Regions from separate parts of the Homo sapiens genome. Here region 1 is linked to region 2. Evidence: promoter capture Hi-C in 16 types of primary human blood cells and fetal thymus (Javierre and others, 2016). All regions are on one chromosome and are shown on one strand. Each heading gives the region's core, a stretch centred on a gene start or on the middle of the fragment in contact. The rest is flanking DNA. Distances are from core to core; before and after follow the strand shown.

Region 1 (2,700 bases), core at 98-2,597, 5.2 Mb after region 2:
GCGAGACTCCTCCAAAAACAAAAAAAAACCCACCATCCTCCTGGGCAGCAAGTCATACCCTCCCGCCGCGCCCCCTGCCCCCCACCCCTGACCCCTCTCATCCAGGCCTATAATTGCCCCAGCCTGTAAGCAGTGAGGGGTTCTGGCACTAAGCTAGTTCTCCCCATCACAGGTCTCGTGCTGGACATAAAACCTGCATTGCTGTAGAGCTGCCAACTCTGCCTTTCTTTAACCCTCGCCTTCCCTTCAAAACCTAACAGTTATTATTAATAGATTTCTGTAATTTTCATTTCACAAGTATTTTCACAGATAATTTCAACTCCCTGTAAAATGATAACTCACTTCTCAGGAAGGAGATAAGATCATGAAAGTTCACAGTTTTTATTGGGGATAATACGTTCCCTGTGTACATATACTCCAACTATGGAATGGCACAAAATGTCCTGTCAGGAAATGGCATGTATCAGTCACTCTCATTTTCAGACAGGATTGAGACTTTTAAAATAAATGTAAAATATTTCAGACATGAAGTAATAAGTATTATTAGAATAAAAGCATTGCACTCTTGGTAGGAACACAATCACTGACTCTACAGACAGTAATGATGTTTTCTTCTGGATCCAGAGGCACAGCGTCACCCTTTCAATCTACGTCGGTATCTCCTGTCTTCTTTTGTGCAAATTCCCAGCCATGTAGTCTTTCTTTGTTCTCTTGGACCAACCATATTGAAGCTTAATAAATAGAAGTCAAAGTTTAACTGTATGTGTATTTGAAAAGCAACATATGGCTGAGAGGCATGAGTAGAGACAGAGTGCCTTTGTGGTATAGTGTGTCCCTTTGGCGGTGTAGCCGTTGAGAACTTGCTGTGCTTCACAATCCGATATCATAGGTCCCTCACATTTCTGTGAGTATCCTAGACCTTACTTCAAGAAAATCTGGTTATGTCGCCTTTAAGAGCAACCCAAGCCCCGTCCTGTCCGTGGAGTCCGGCACTCTGTTTACCAGCTCCCCTGACGGTGCCACTGAGCCTCTATCCGCCATATAAGGACTGACCAACGCTCTAAGGCAAGTCCAGAAGCGGTGTCGAAACTTCATAACCCAGAAGACACTGCGGTTCTCGGCAGCGCGACTGACCCAATGAATGTGCAGGAAGGAACCTTTGCGTGCGTGCGTGCGTGCGTGCGTCCGTCCTCGTGCTCGCGCATCGTAGGAGGGCGGGACTTCCGGCGTCCTCTTGCCGTGGTTGATTTGATTTTCTCTGGTGTTTTCACTAGTTCCGGCCTTTGGCGCTCTATGACGTCACCGAAGTGACGGAGCGGAAAAGCGCGAGAAGCGGCTTGGTTCCTTGTACGCAGAGGCGGTAGTGACACAGGCACAACTGACAGTGGCAGAAGCTCAGCTGACAAGGACTGGGGACGGCGGTGTCCTTGTCTTGCCTTTGTCGCCCCCGCCCCTCTCTTCCCTGGCTGGACTTGCGGAGTCCCCGCCGAAGAACCCGAGGTGGGTGCCCCGTCCCAGGCCCCCCCCCACCTCCGCCCGACCCCTCCTTCCAGTGCTGAAGCCCATAGAAGGGGCCCTGCAGGTCAGGCCCCTTGTCTCGAAGAGAGGGGCGTTCCTGTGTGGGGTCCCCGTATCAGCTGGTTTGATGCAGCCTCAGAGCTCCCTTCGGGGATCTCAGGTTCAGAGCATGGAGGTGCTGCCAAGTGGGCCGCGTCGGGGAGCCCGGAGTGTGGGTTGTTTCTGCGGGAAAGAGAGGGTTTTGTGAATTTTCTCTTGGAATGGCAGCCTGAGCAGCCGGTATAACCATGGAAGGTTGTCAAGGGAAGACCAGTGGGAGGGGCAGGTCCAGAGTTAGAACGAGCAGGATGGGGAATTGACACAGAGAGACCCAGAAGAGGCCACTGCAGTGGATCCCAGAGGCTGCACCAGAGCCGTGGTATAAGAGGGACAATGTGATGGGATTCTGGATAGACCTGGAAGATAGAGCCAACAGGTTTTCCTGCCGTATCAGATATGTCTGTGAGCAAAAATAGGGAGTGAAGGGTCATTTTTTTTTTTTTGCCCGAACATCTGAAAGAATGAAGTTGGGGAAGTCAGCAGCATGAGAAGTAGGTTTCATGGAGAAGATCATGGGTTGGAGTTTGGCCAGTGTGATTCTCAGGCGTCTCAAGTTGAAAATGTCACATGGGTAGGGGGACAGAAAGGTGTGGAGTCTACAGAGGAGAACTGGTGTAGATTCTTCAAAAGAATAGAGGGTGGCCGGGCGTGGTGGCTCACGCCGGTAATCCCAGCACTTTGGGAGGCCAAGGCGAGCGGATCACAAGGTCAGGCGTTCAAGACCAGCCTGACCAACATGGTGAAACCCCGTCTTTAGTAAAAATACAAAAATTAGCCGGGGGTGGTGACGCGCGCCTGTAATCCCAGCTATTCGGGAGGCTGAGGCAGGAGAATTGCCTGAACCCAGGAGGTGGAGATTGCAGTGAGCCAAGATCGCGCCATTGCACTCCAGCCTGGGCGACAGAGCGAGATTCCGTGTCAAAAAAAGGTGCGGAGCGCGGGTCTCTTCCGCGGAAACTGACATTGCGTTTCCGTTGTCGGCCTCCCGCTGCAGGAGCCATATATTGAAGACCATGTCTGGAAGCTTCTACTTTGTAATTGTTGGTCACCATGATAATCCAGTTTTTGAAATGGAGTTTTTGC
Region 2 (2,700 bases), core at 132-2,631:
TTCACCTCTCGTAGCTCTTTCTCCCCAATCTTTCTGATTGTCCCCAATCTCCACGTATTTCCGCCTCTTTTTCCCCATCTGAGCTCCCTCTCTGCTCTCCTTGTTAAAATTCCCTCTTACCTGTTACACCTCCTTTGTTCCCACTCTCTAGCACCCCCAACTCCCTAGGCTTCCTCCCTGCTGTGGTTCTCCCTCTACTCTGCTTGTCACCCACTGCCCTCTCTCCCTCTCTTTCAGTCCCAGCACCACGTAGCTCTGTCGGCTGCGGCTCCAACTCTTTCACCTTCTCCCCACTGTCTGTCTGCAGTGCCTCCTCCTTTGCCGCCCCACTCTATTTTGCTGCCTTTCATCTCTCTGAAGGTCCCCCTTTTTTTCTAAATTTCTCTGTGTGCTTTCCTCCCCCTGCTTCTTTCTCCATTCGTTCTCTTTCACTCTTGCTGTCTCTTTGCAAATCCCTAAATTATCATCCATTTTGCCGTGTATTTATGGGTCTCCCTCATTCTCTTCTATTCGGTCTTTCCTTTTGCTCCGTCGCTCCCCTTCTTTTCCTCTCCTGATCCCTCTCACCCACACATTCAGTAAGAAAGGGGAGGAATAGGATGCCCACCTCCCGGAAAAGCATATTTTCCAGTGGAGTAAAATTTGGGAAGGAAGAACACTGGGTGTCACAAGACTCAGGTGACCTCCCCCAAGGGGGGGATCGAGAAAAGCAGTGGCTGTGAAGGGGAAGCCTGGGGAGCGAAAGGACCCGGCGTGAGGAGGACACAAGGTGGCAGGGGGTACGGTGTCTCAGGACAGGGAGGGTCTGCAGAATCCCAGGACCTGGGAGGAGAAGCGACTCCTTCAGGAGCCGGACGGCGGGCGCTCCCCTCCAGGGGCTGACGACGGAGAAGCTCCGGGGTCGCAACGGGCGGGAATCCACCTCCCGAGTGAGGACTCGACTTGGCGCAGGGCCGAAGCAGAGGTCAGTAAGGGTTTTAAGCAGGAACACGACCTGAGTGGGGTTGTCTACATGGTCCTAAGGCAGAAAGGCAGGGAGCAAGGAACAGCCTCAGAGAGATTTTTAAACCGAAAGGGAAGCAATTATCAGACTTACTTGGGGCGAAGGGGCTGTTGCTGGTATTTTAAGGTCCGTAGCGATCCCCAGGAAACGGGTATGGACAAGGGAAGACTGCCAAGTGCACGTTCGATTCAGGCAGACGGGGCGAAGCAAATGTTTAGTCCAGGTAGACGGAAACTGACGCGCAGCGCTGTGATCTTTTCCCCGCGCGATCTGCTTCCGGGTGTGCAGGAAGCTACACGCCCTGAGAAAAAAGACTGAGAGACCTGGGGCGGGAGAGGGGCCTGGGCGGGGTGCGACCCGCAAGGGAAAGGGCAGAAAGACTGGCCAGATTTGGGAACCCTGAAAGGGTGGGGCAAGGCTGATGCGGTAGTGGGCGGGGCCAGGTGGGCTAAGCGGGACGGGCGGTGTGGGCGGGACCTGTTTGGTGGGCGGGGCCTGTTATTCGCTCTGCCTTCCACCCAGCAAGTCTTTGTTCTCCCGATTTAGGAGTATTTGTGACTATTTCTTGTCCTGTGAAGCAGCGTTGCTTCCTGCCTATTTTAAGTTAATGTTTTAGACTTTAAGGTCAAAGCTTAAAGTTGTGGTCCACTTCTGTTGGAAACTAAGATGTTTTCTTCTTGTCAAGTTGAACTGATTTAAGTCAAAATCGATTTTTGCGAGCCTGGTGGACTCCATCGGGTCTTGCCAGTGAGGCTGAAGCCAGTTAAGGCTGAAGTTACTCAGTAGTCAGGGAACTAGGATCTCCGTGAAGATCTGATGTGCAGCCGTGGCTGGATCCAGGAACCCTGAAGACATTATGCTAAGCGAAATGTGCTAGACACAGAAAGACAAATCCTGCATGTGCTTACTTACATGTGCAATCTACAAACATCAAAATTACAGTAACAGAGTAGAAGGGTGGTTTCCAGGGCTGACGGTCTATCCTGTGCCTGTCCCACCATTGTATTTTGGAAGCAAATAGCTTCTTTGGCTTCACAGTTTCACAGCTGGACAGAAATTTTGCCTCAGGATGAACCACACTTTGAGTCTCACCCATATGTGATTCAGATAATATTTGGGTAATATTTGGGCCTTAGAGTTTGATACTGAAATGGATTAAGACTTTTGAAATGGGCCAGGAGCAGTGGCTCTGGCCTGTAATCCCAGCTCTTTGGGAGGCCAAGGTGGAAGGATTGCTTGAGCTCAAGAATTCAAGACCAACCTGGGGCAACATAGTAAGACCCTTGTCTCTACAAAAAATACAAAAATTAGCCAGGCATGGTGGCTCACGCCTATAGTCACAGCTATTTGGGAGGCTGAGGTGGGAGGATCTCTTGAGCCCAGGGGATCAAGGCTGCAATGAGTTGTCTTTGCACCACTGAACTGCTGCCAGGGCAACAGAGTGAGACTCTGTCTCAAAAAATAATAATAATAAGACTTTTGAGATGTTAGGATGGGGGTGAAGGGATCTTGCATGTGAGAAGGACATGAATTTTGGGAGTCCAGAGTACAGAATGTTATGAGCTGAATCACGTCCCTAAAAAATCATTGTTGGCCAAGCGCGGTGGCTCATGCCTATAATCCCAGCACTTTGGGAGGCCGCGGCGGGCGGATCACAAGGTCATGAGATCGAGACCATCCTGGTTAACACGGTGAAA

The links. Contacts are between HindIII fragments. The CHiCAGO score rates a contact against its expected background, and 5 or more counts as called.
Region 1: the fragment with the promoter of ZNF547 here is called in contact with the fragment with the promoter of ZNF836 in region 2 in 1 of 17 cell types (total CD4 T cells); the score reaches 6.9 in total CD4 T cells.

What each region holds. Positions count from the first base shown.
Region 1 is chr19:57,362,204-57,364,903 of GRCh38, forward strand. ZNF547 (zinc finger protein 547) reads left to right here and starts at 1,348. Exons shown (of 4, transcript NM_173631.4): 1 at 1,348-1,500. It overlaps TRAPPC2B (trafficking protein particle complex subunit 2B), which reads left to right and starts at 1,348. Exons shown (of 2, transcript NM_001355204.2): 1 at 1,348-1,500; 2 at 2,612-2,700. The coding sequence starts at 2,631. RefSeq lists enhancers at 901-980, 1,021-1,400. The HindIII fragment of the contact is 1,910 bases long and covers 730-2,639 here.
Region 2 is chr19:52,170,240-52,172,939 of GRCh38, forward strand. It overlaps ZNF836 (zinc finger protein 836), which reads right to left and starts at 1,382. Exons shown (of 5, transcript NM_001102657.3): 1 at 1,097-1,382. RefSeq lists an enhancer at 781-920 and a silencer at 1,501-1,550. The HindIII fragment of the contact is 2,622 bases long and covers 1-1,632 here.